Regions from separate parts of the Homo sapiens genome. Here region 2 is linked to region 1. Evidence: promoter capture Hi-C in 16 types of primary human blood cells and fetal thymus (Javierre and others, 2016). All regions are on one chromosome and are shown on one strand. Each heading gives the region's core, a stretch centred on a gene start or on the middle of the fragment in contact. The rest is flanking DNA. Distances are from core to core; before and after follow the strand shown. Region 1 holds the start of LOXHD1 (lipoxygenase homology PLAT domains 1). Region 2 has its middle 31 kb from the start of ARK2N.

Region 1 (5,974 bases), core at 898-3,397:
GAAAGGTGAATGTTTTATCTCTCTCCTGGAGCTGGGACACCCTTCTTCTCCTGTCCTTGGGCATCAGAACTCTAGGTTCTCCAGTCTTTGGACTCTGGGACTTGCTCCATCACCCGCTCACCACCAGGTTCTCAGGTTTTGGGCCTGAGACTGAGAATTACACCACGGGTTTCCCAGGTTCCCAGGCCTTCAGACTTGGACCCACCACACTACCAGCCTTCCTACGTCTCCAACGTGCAGACTGCCTGTTGTGGGACTTCTCGGCATCCATAATCCCATGAGTCAACGCCCCTAGTAAGCCTCCTGTCATATATCTACTGATCTGTATATCCTAGTGGTTCTGTCTGTCTGGAGAACCTTGAAATAATACAGAAATAATATAGAATTATTTCCCTGACCTCCTAGCCAGTGTGTTCCAGTACCATGGGATTCTCTAAAAATATTTTGATTTCAGCTTTTAAAGTTCTAAGAAACAGCCGGGCGCGGTGGCTCACGCCTGTAATCCCAGCACTTTGTGAGACCGAGGTGGGCAGATCTCGAGGTCAGGAGTTCGAGACCAGCCTGACTAACATGGTGAAACCCTGTCTCTACTAAAAATACAAAAATTAGCTGGGCATGGTGGCGTATGCCTGTAATCCCAGCTACTCGGGAGGCTGAGGCAGGAGAATCACTTGAACCCGGGAGGCGGAGGTTGCAGTGAGCCGAGATCACACCACTGCACTCCAGCCTGGGCGACAGAGGGAGACTCCGTCTCAAAAAAAATTCTAAGAAACGTTTTATTATCTTTTCCCTGAATGGGTACTCGTGTAAAATGAGTTTTCTTAGTAGATTCCTAGAGATCCTTAAGGAAGGTCTCTTCCTGAAGAATCCAGGTGTGTAAACCACATATTGCCAGAAGGGGGCGCGCGCCACCCACCATTAAACTTCACTCCTGGTCCTCAGAGGACTTTGAGCTGCTTCAAGGGCGGCCCCTCAGCTGAATAGGGGAAGAGGGGAGGTTGATCTTTCCTGGGTAGGAACGTTCGGGGTTAGAGATGCCTCCCCCTAGTGGAAGATTTGGATGGCTCCAAAGAGCAGGGCAGGACCAAAGCTGCCCCAGGCTGCCGGGGAGGCCTGTGAGTGCCGACTGCTCCTCAGGCGTCCGCTCCAAATCCTCTCTTCCTCTCCACCTGAAATTCCCCTTTAGAGTCACTATTTTGGCTTAGAGGACAAAATCACACGTGTTGCTTCTAGAGGACTCCTGTTAGCACACCTAAGTTACCTGAGAAGCGATTCAGGGACCCTCAACATGGCTGCACATGAAAGTCACCAGGAGCTTTAAAAACTGGGGCCCAAGCTGCGTCCCAAACCAAGCAAATCAGAATCCTTGGGGATGGGACCCACGCATTAGCGTTCAACACCTCTCTGGGGGCTTCTGGTGTGCAGCCCGGGCTGTGCGCCCTGGGGTAGGAGCTTGCTGATGCCCTCCCGTGAGTCCAGGTGGTGAGCTGATCTAGTTAGTGAGTTCACCTGGGAGGGCATCGGCTACGATGATGTTTAAACTTTAGTGCATATAAAGCTCACCTGGCAGGGGGAGCGGGGAGAGTTTTCTGGTGCCCTAGCTTTCCTCGTGCCCAGAGGCCACTTCCGGAAGCCCGCAGTCTTGATGAGATGGAAGCAGAGAGAGAGAACGAGAAGGATCCAGCGAGAACCCCGCCTGCTCCGTAAGACGATCAGAGGTCATGAATAATGGAGAGAAACGGGGGCCTTTGAGTCCTGGGAGCCTGGCTGATTCCGGGGCCCCGCCTTCCTCAGGAGGGTCCCGTGTGGGCTGTAAGGCTTGGGAGATCTCCTGGGTGAGGAGCCCTCACCTGTCCCTGGGGTGGCCTGGAGGGATCCCAGGTGACCCCCTGGCTGTGAGGCCAGGTGGGAAATGGACTTCAAGGGCTCCGTGTCACCTGATTCTCCATAGGGAGGAGAGAGGGCTGGTGGGGAGGGGAGAGAGGAAGGAAGTCAGCCTGCCCTCAGCGCCATGAATAAGTGATGAGGCCCAAAGAGAAGCCCCGGGGCAGGTACAGAGGAGGAGGAGGTGGCTCACCAGAGGGTGGTGGGAGGGGACAGGGACAGGAGGTTCAGAGATAAGGCACTGAGGTTCAGCTCAGGAGCCAGAGAAGGCAGAGGGAACAGCACCTTGGGCACGGGGAAGCCAAGAAAACGGGGCACTCTGGCCCACCCAGGCCTGAGCTATAGGAGGGCCGTGGGCGCCAGAGCTCAGGGAGGAGGTCTCAGGTTCCCGCAGGTGTGAGGAGGCGGCACAGTGAGCCTGCGAGCGCTGGGAGAAGGCAGCCGACAGAATGATGCCCCAGAAGAAAAGGCGGAGGAAGAAGGACATCGACTTCCTGGCCCTGTACGAAGCGGAGCTGCTGAACTACGCCTCGGAGGACGACGAGGGGGAGCTGGAACACGAGTACTACAAGGCCAGAGGTGCGGGGTCCCAGCCTGCGGGGGGCGGGTGGTGCAGCTGGCTGCGGTGGGCAGGGGTCTGTTCCTGTCTATGGGGAGTCATTCTAAGATTTCGGAGCAAGCCCTTCCTCACTGATTATCCCATGTGTCTGTTCCATATCCCCTCGGAGTAAGAAGGCAGGCATTATGCAGGGATGGTGGGGTCCCTGTTGTACAGACAGGTGGAGCAACTTGCCTTTAGCCCCCGATTCTCAGTGGAACAGAATAGACTAGAGCCACAGTGCCCCCATGGCCCCATGTTCTCCAGCTCCTGAACATCCCCAAAGCCACGTTCCAGTCTGGTCCCCGAGTAGGTGGTCTGCATCAGGCAGAGCGCCCTGAACTGCTGGGGTCATGAAAGGATGTCTTGGGGAGGAAGCCTGACAGCTCATCCTATGCCCACTGTGGTTGATGGAGACAGGGAGCCTGGGGCTTTGCAAGGAGATGTCCATCCCATATGTCGAAGGCGGCCGGTGCTCTGGACCCCAGGGCCTTGTCCTTCTAGTCTCATCTTTCCCTGGGCCACATGAGACCTGCTTGAAATTGCTCTAACTCCTTGCCAGGTAAACCAAAGAAGTGAACTGTGACCCTAGAGCTGGTTTTGGCCAGCAGAGTTTAAGTTGTTTTTTTCCTTTCCAGCGTTTTGAAATCCTTTTTTCTGTGAATGCCAATAGGCTGTGGACGTCCAGCTTATCACAGTCTCCACCACTCCCTGTCATCTCATACTAGGTCTGGTTTACTCATCAGTGCTGCCTGCCTAGTCTCTGAAGCCATTTAAATTCTCAATGCTGACTCCAAAGTGGCTCACCAGTCCCCGTAAGCGCCATAGTCATCCATGCATTCACTCATTCATTCATTCAGCAAGTATTTATTGAATGTGTGCTCTGTGCCTGCCCATGGCCTTGTTTGTCTTCCCCTTTCTCCCTCTTCCTGTCCTCACTCTGAAAGCCCAGTTCTGATCCCATCTCTTCCATGAAGCCCTCCTTGATTCCAGTCCACCATGAGTTCCCTGATTACATCCAATTCATAATTGTTCCATTGTTTCCTGCAAAGCTTGTCCAGCTGTGTCCGGCTTGCAGCCACAGTCACCCTAAACTCCGTGAGGGTGGGGCCTTGCTGTACTTGTCTTTAGTCCTCATCATTCAGCCCCTGCACAGTCCTGGGCTTAGAGGAGGTAGTCTCAGCTGAGATCAGGAAGGCTGTGGCCCCTTTCCAGGTACAGAATCCTGGGTACCTCCAAGGGTAGAAGGGGGGGCTGTAGTAGGAGGAAGTGGGCCCAGGAAAAAGGAAGCATCCGCCACCTTCTAACAGTACATGTGCCTCAAGCTCTGACCCTCTTGTGAGGGGAGGGGCTGGGAGGTGAGACATCAGGGCAGCATCCCCACCATGTGTGCTTGGCTTCCCAGGTGATTCTCCCCAGCCACGTGACTGTTGGTGAGATCATTCTAGAACCTCTCACAGCCAGCAGCACACTGTTGACTTCTGTTTACGGGCTCTGCATGCCTCAGTGTGGCCATAATGATCGTTCTCCTTTTTATCCTTTCAGAAGCCTTTTTACTAATGTTCTCATGTTTGATCCTTAAGATCCCTGAGCACAGTCAAGGCAGGCGGATCAGCACCACTTCACAAGTTAAAGACTGAGGCCCTGAGACATTAAGTGACTTGAGCAAGGTCACAAACAGGATGGACAACAAGAACCTCAAATATCTTTTTCGAGGCAAGCGCCCCATTTCATCTCATGATGCTGCCAAATAGGATCATGCACCATGCACCAGGCACTGAGTTAAGCACTTTATTCATGTTAACTAATTTCATCTTCATGATGACACATTGCAGCAGATGTGTTATCCTTTTTTTTCAGATGAGGAATCTGAAGCACAGAGAAGTTAAGTAACTTGCCCAAGATCACACAGCTAGCAAATAGCAGAGTTAGGATTTGAATCCAGCTGGTCTGGCTGGTCCTTGGTCTTGTACTGCCCGATTTTGACTGTGGTAAAAATAGCTGGAGAAGAGCAAGTGGAGGTGGGTGCCACGCTGACATTTCTAAGGGAACCATGGATTCTCCTGTCTGTTGCAGGGTACTGCCTATAAATGTGGATGATGCTAACGGTGGTCACATGCTGAGCTCCAGCTGTACTGTCATTGTCACCCTCTCAGTGCTAGAACAACGGTTCCCCCACTTCCTTTGAACTCTGGGCTCTGGTGTTACGTGGAGAGTCTTGATGAGTGTGATGGGGAGGAAGAAGGAGGGAAGAAAAGCCTAGGTGTTCCTTCTCTCTTCTTAGGCTACCTTCTGGCTACCCTGGGATTCCCCAATAACCAGAGGGAGGAGAGCAGCTCCCTCAATGCTTTGAGGGCAGGCTGAACGTGGCACATTGCTCTCTCTCCTAAGACAGGGCCCATGATGGGAAGAATAACTCATTCCAGAACTGGAGAGTAGAAGGGGGCCTCAGAGGCCACCCTGCACAGGCTTCCAGCCCCGGAGGCATCTCCTCTCCTGCATCCTAGACAGGAGTCCCCCAGCATCTGTTGGGATGCAATTTTCCAAGGCAGCTTCCTTGGGGATGTTGTCAATGGAAATGATAGCAATGATTTCTCTCTTAGTCCATTGGTGCTGCTATGCCAGAATACCTGAGACTGGTGATTTATAAAGAACATATTTTTTTTTCTTCCTCAAAAATTCTGGAGGCTGAGAAGTCCAAGATCAAGGTGCCAGTATCTGGTGAGAACTTTCTTGCTGTGTTCCCACATGGCAATAGGCAGAAGGACAAGCCCCTTTATAACGGCACCCAATCCCTTTCACGAGGGGGAAGCTCTCATGGCCTAATCACCTCTTAAAGGCCCCACCCCTTAATACTATCACAATGGCAACACCTGAATTTTGGAGGGGACATATTCAAACTATAGCAATGGTGATGATGATGATAGTAACCACTTATGAAATGCCTATCTTTTCATGCAACTGTGGAAGAATGCCTATAAGGTAAATTCCCAGAAATGTAACTTCTAGGTCAATGAGTTTAAGAGTTGAAAGCTATTTTACTTAATCCTTATCACAGTCCTTCAAGGAAGAATTTATTCCTACTTCAGAGATGAGGAAATTGAAGCTTAGTAAACCATTTGGTTGAAATCACATAGCCAATAATGGTAGAACTGGGCTTCAAATCCTGGTCAGTTTTGTTCCATATTTATTCATTGATTGTTTCATTCATTCATATGATCATTCATCCAGATAATTATTTGACTGTCTCTCATGTGCTGGGCTGTTGCTAAGAGCAACAGATTGACAATTGTTTGTGCTGACTTGGAAACTTTATTAGTGGGGGTCTTCCCATCTGGAGTTCAACAGAATTCTGTGTCCTCCACAAGGTATCTGTCTTCTACAAGATAGTTCTTCAGTTATTTGAATTGAGTTTTTCTTTAAGTTAAAATTTTAAACTTGAGCAATATTGTATATACAGAACAAAACTTATGAAGGTACGTTTACATATGC
Region 2 (5,974 bases), core at 1,393-3,892, 510 kb after region 1:
CACTTTTAGTTATTTTATTTTAGACAGGACTCTGGCTCTGTCGCCCACACTGGAGTGCAGTGGCACAATCTTGGCTTATTGCAACCTCCGCTTCCCAGGCTCAAGTGATCCTCCCACTTTAACCTCCTGAGTAACTGAGATCACAGGTACGCACCACTACACTGAGCTAATTTTGTTTTGTTTTGGTAGAGGTGGGCTTTTGCTCTGTTGCCCCTGCTGGTCTCAAACTCCTGGGCTCAAGCAATCTGCCCGCCTCTGCCTCCCAAAGTGCTGGGATTACAGATGTGAGCCACTGCACCCAGCCCAAACTGTGTTTTAAAACTTTGTTTTCTTTCCTCCTTTCTCCCCAATCTCAAGATACAACTGTGAGACAAACTGCGTATGTCTTTCCTTTCATCTTCAAATACAGCTTCGGAATGTGCTGTGAACCTCCAATCCTTTTCTTTTCCTATTCTATGTTCCCAAGCCTTACATATACATATTTACTTAGATGCATGTTAAGCACATACCATACTCACTTATCTGGTCATATATTTCCTTAGAAGCTTCAGGGGCTGGATCCTGATATGGACCAGACACCTCGAGCCACGAAGTCGCCAACCCCCTCACCGGATGGAACAATAATTCAAGACAAGCTGTTGGAGGAGGTCACGCCACCTGACACCTGCTAGCTCCCCTTCCTCTTCTGCATTCCAAACCCTCTGTGTGTGTGTGTGTGTGTGTGTGTGTGTGTGTGTGTGTGTGTGTGACAGGGTCTCACTCTGTCACCCAGGCTGGAGTGCAGTGGCACCATCACCACTCAGTGCAGCCTCTACCTCCTGGGCTCAAGTGATCCTCCCACCTCAGCCTCCCAAGTAGCTGAGAATACAGGTGTGTGCCACCATACCTAGCTAATTTTTGTATTTTTTGTAGAGATGTAGTTTTGCCATGTTGCCCAGGCTGATCTTGAACTTCTGAGCTCTAGTGATCTGCCTGCCTATGCCTCCCATATTGCTGGGATTGTAGGCGTGAGCAACCACACCTGGCCCAAATCCTCTCTTTAAAACCCCCTGCATTCCCTCTACAAATTCAAAAGTAGAATTTTTTTCATTCTTTCCCTTACTGGCATGGATAATAAAGTCTCGCTCTCTTTTTTTTTATCACATCTTGTTATTATTTTGGCTTCTTTTTACACACGGTGAGCAGCCAGACCCTTTTGCCAGTTACAATATCAGGGTTGTGAGATAGATAGATGATTGATAGACAGATAGATAGATAGATAGATAGATAGATAGATAGATAGATAGATAGTTTTTTTTTTCTTGGACTATTCTTCATAACAAAGGGGTGTGATATAATATTAGCTTCCTATAAAAGGAATGTGGCCAGGCACAGTGGCTCATGCCTGTAATCCCAACACTTTGGGAGGCCGGGGTGGGAAGATTGCTGGAAGCCAGGAGTTTGAGACAAGCCCAGGCAACATAGAGAGACCCCATCTCTACAAAAAAAATTAGCCAGGCATGGTGGTGCACGTCTGTCATCCCAGCTACTCTAGAGACTGAGAGAGGAGTATTGCTTGAGCTATGATGGTGACACTGCACTCCAGCCTCTGTAACAGAGAAAAATCCTGTCTCTAAAAACAAAACAAAATAAACAAACAGAAAATGTGAACTGTAGTGGTTAACTTCAGACCTGGTGGGAAAGTATGGCGAAATCTATATTAAGTAAAAATGTAGGCCTATGTGAGTAGATGAATCCTTTTGCAGAGAACAACTAGGAAAGCTGAAAAAATGCAAAGTAAAAAATTGTTTGGGCCCAGTGTGGTGGCTCATGCCTGTAATCTTAGCACTTTGGGAGGCCAAGGCAGGCAGATCACAAGGTCAGGAGATCAAGACCATCCTGGCCAACATGGTGAAACTCTGTCTCTACTAAATACACAAAAATTAGCTGGGCATGGTGGCACACACCTGTAGTCACAGCTACTTGGGAGGTTGAGGCAGGAGGATCACCTGAACCTGGGAGGGGAGGCAGAGGTTGCAGTGAGCCGAGATCGCGCCACTGCACTCCAGCCTGGCAACAGAGCAAGACTCCGTCTCAAAAAAAAAAAAAAAATTGTTTAAAGGTATGAGAGAGCTGCCCAAGCAGCCAGTACTTGAGGGGCTAATGTTCAGAGGGAAGAGAAACTTCTTGAATGAAGCCTCTCTTTGCCCTTGAGGAATGTGCTGATTCATAAATGGTGTAGGATAGGCATGCTGAAAAGCTGAACAAAAACTGGTTGACAAGCTGGGCACAGTGGCTCATGCCTGTAATCCCAGCACTTTGGGAGGCTGAGGCAGCAGGATCACTTGAGCCCAGGAATTCAAGACCAGTCTGTCCAACATAGTGGGACCCCATCTCTATAAAAAGTTAAAAAAATAATAAAAAGAAACATCCAGCCGGGCGTGGTGGCTCACGCCTGTAATCCCAGCCCTTTGGGAGGCTGAGGCGGGCGGATCACGAGGTCAGGAGATCAAGACCATCCTGGCTAACACGGTGAAACCCCGTCTCTACTAAAAATACAAAAAAAAAAAATTAGCCGGGCGCCATGGTGGGTGCCTGTAGTCCCAGGTACTCGGGAGACTGAAGCAGGAGAATGGCGTGAACCCGGGAGGCAGAGATTGCAGTGAGCCGAGATTGCGCCACTGCACTCCAGCCTGGGCGACAGAGCGAGATCACCTCAAAAAAAAAAGAAAAAAAAAAAGAAACATCCAGACTGAAGGAGGAAAAGACAATGGGGAAAAAGAGGAGAGAAAAAGAGGGTGGAAAATAGAGAAAAGAGTGCAAAATATCTACTGAAGACAGTGAGAAAGTCTAACATCTAGGTCATTGGAGGTATGAGAAACAAGGAGGAAAAGAATGGAGCAGAGGCAATACTTAAAGAGATAATGCTGATTTTTTTCCAAAGAGATGAAATAAGTCAAGCTATTAATACAAGGAGTTCTATGAACCCTAATTAGGAGAGGTTAAAAAAGAAAAATTCACCTAGCATGTCATAGGATTGCTGAAAACCAAAGAGAGAGAGACAATCTTAAAAATGACCACAGAATGGCCAGGCACAGTGGCTCACACCTGTAATCCCAGCACTTTGGGAGGCCAAGGCGGGTGGATCACCTGAGGTCAGGAGTTCCAGACCAGCCTGGCCAAGATGGTGAAATCCCGTCTCTACTAAAAATACAAAAATTAGCCAGGCACGGTGGCAGGCACCTATAATCCCAGCTACTCAGGAGGCTGAGGCAGGAGAATCAGTTGAACCGGGCGGCAGAAGTTGCAGTGAGCCGAGATCATGCCACTGTACTCCAGCCTGGGCAATAAAGTGAGACTCTGTCTCAAAACAACATGAATAACAACAACAACAAAAACACAGAAAAAAATACACTTACTTAAAAATAAACAATGTTAGTTTGGTGGACAGATGATTTCTTGGCAGAAATTTTATGTAGTGGACAGACTCAGAGTGGTCCCCACGAGCCTTGCCTCCTGGTGTTCATGCCTTTGTGTGATTTTTCCCTCTTGTGTGGAGACAGGGCCTGTGGCCTGCTTCTAACCAATAGAATAAGGCAGGCCACTTGTGGTGGCTCAATATCTGTGATCCTAGCACTTTGGTGGGTGGATTACTTGAGGCCAGGAGTTTGAGACCAACCTGGGCAACATAGTAAGACTGCGTGTCTACAAAAAAAAAAAAAAAAAAAAAAAAAATTAGGCTGGTTGCAGTGGCTCACGCCTGTAATCCTAGCACTTTGGGAGGCCAAGGCAGGAGAATCGCTTCAGCTTAGTAGTTATGTTTTTAGTTTTTATTTTTTGAGACGGAGTCTCACTCTGTTGCCCAGGCTGGAGTGTAGTGGTACAATCTCAGCTCACTGCAACCTCCGCCTCCTAGGTTCAAGTGATTCTCCTGCCTCAGCCTCTTGAGTAGCTGGTATTACAGGTACGCGCCACCATGCTTGGCGAGTCTTCGTATTTTTAGTAGAGGCAGGGTTTCACCATGTTGGCCAGGCTGGTCGCTGGTCTTAAACTCCTGACCTCAAGTGATCCACCCATCTCGGCCTCCCAAAGTGCTGGGATTACAGGCGTGAGCCACCAAGCCTGTTCTGAGCTCAATAGCTCAAGACCAGCCTGGGCAACACAGTGATACCTTGTCTCTATTAAAAAAAATTATTTTTTAATTAGCTGGGCATGGTGGTGCTTGCCTGTAATTCCAGCTACTTGGGAGAGTGAGGTGCTATGATTGTGCTACTGCACTCAGGCCTGGATGACAGAATGAGACCCTGTCTCTCAAATCTCTTTTAAAAAAAAAAAAGGTAAAGGTGACAAGATGTATGTGATTATGTGCATGTGACTACGTGAATTACAAGATTACATGATTGTGTTACAGAGGATCATAACACTTGTCTTACTGGAGTCTCTCCTCCTTTGCTGACTTTGAGGAACAAGGAGCCATGTTGGGGACTGTCACTTGGCAAGGACCTGTGGGTACGATGAGGAACTGAGGTTGGCCTCAGCTGATAGCTAGCAAAAAACAGAAGCTCTCAGTCCTACAGACTCAAGGACCAGCATCCTACCAACAAACGGAATAAGTTTGGAAGCACATTCATTTTTAGTCAAGCCTTAGGTGAGAATGAAGTCCTGGCCAACCCTTTTTTTTTTTTTTTTTTGAGATGGAGTCTCGCTCTGTCACCCAGGCTGGAGTGCAGTGGCGCCATCTCGGCTCACTGCAAGCTTCGCCTCCCAGGTTCATGCCATTCTCCTGCCTCAGCCTTCCGAGTAGCTTCGACTAGAGGCGCCCGCCACCATGCCCGGCTAATTTTTTTGTATTTTTAGTAGAGACGGGGTTTCACCGTGTTAGGCAGGATAGTCTCGAACTCCTGACCTTGTGATCCACCCACCTCGGCCTCCCAAAGTGCTGGGATTACAGGCATGAGCCACCACGCCTGGAGTCCTGGCCAACTCTTTATTTGCAGCCTTGTAGAGGACCCAGTTAAGCCATGTCCAGATGGCTGACCCAGAGAAGCTGAGATAATAAATGTGTTTTGTTTTAAAATGCTAAGTTTGTAGTAATATTTTCACATAGCAATAGAAAACTAACACATGACCGGGCATGGTGGCTCACACCTGTAATCCCAACACTTTTGGAAAGCTGAGGCTGAAGGATCGCTTGAGCTCAGGAGTTCAAGAGCAGCCTGGGCAACATGGTGAAACCCTGTCTCTACAAAAAAATGTAAAAATTAGCTGGGCGTGGTGGCGCACGCCAGTAGTCCCAGCTACTCAGTAGGCTAAAGCAGGAGGATTGATTGAACCTCAAGAGTTTGAGGCTACAGTGAGCTATAATCGTGCCACTGCATTCCAGCAGCCTGCGTGACAGTGCAAGACCCCGTCAAAGGAAAGGAAAAGGAGAAGGAGAAGCAGAAGGAGAAGGAGAAGGAGAGAGAGAAAGAAAGAGAAGGAGAGAAGGAAAGGAAAGGAGAAGGAGAAGGAGAGAGAGAAAGAAAGAGAAAGAGAGAAGGAAAGGAAAGGAGAAGGAGAGAGAAAGAGAAAGAGAGAAGAAAAGGAAAGGAAAGGAAGAAAGAAAACCTAACACATAATGGAAGTATGAAAACACTTGAATCATGTATTGAAGCTGCTAAAAGAAAATAACCGCCAACCTATAATTATAAACCCAGTGAAAATAGCTTTAAAAATAAAGGTGAAAGCACTAATCATAAAGGAAATGATTGATAAATCAGATACTAACATTAAAATCTGTTCATCGAGGCCGGGCATGGTGGCTCATGCCTGTAATCCCAGCACTTTGTGAGGCCTAGGCAGGCAGATCACTGGAGATCAGGAGTTCAAGACCAGCCTGGCCAATTTAGTAGAGACAGTGAAACCCCATCTGTACTAAGAATACAAAAATTAGCTGGGCATGGTGGCACACGCCTGTAATCCCAGCTACTCAGGAGGCTGAGGCAGGAGAATCGAT

Evidence for each region. Contacts are between HindIII fragments. The CHiCAGO score rates a contact against its expected background, and 5 or more counts as called.
Region 2: a fragment that was not itself captured here is called in contact with the fragment with the promoter of LOXHD1 in region 1 in 8 of 17 cell types (total CD8 T cells, neutrophils, total B cells and 5 more); the score reaches 10.3 in total CD8 T cells.

Annotation. Positions count from the first base shown.
Region 1 is chr18:46,653,393-46,659,366 of GRCh38, reverse strand. LOXHD1 (lipoxygenase homology PLAT domains 1) reads left to right here and starts at 2,147. Exons shown (of 41, transcript NM_001384474.1): 1 at 2,147-2,463. The coding sequence starts at 2,334. RefSeq lists enhancers at 1,090-1,139, 950-1,899. The HindIII fragment of the contact is 3,833 bases long and covers 1-3,536 here.
Region 2 is chr18:46,139,909-46,145,882 of GRCh38, reverse strand. No RefSeq gene overlaps it. Among named protein-coding and RNA genes, the nearest start is that of ARK2N, 31 kb to the left of the region's middle. The HindIII fragment of the contact is 4,189 bases long and covers 548-4,736 here.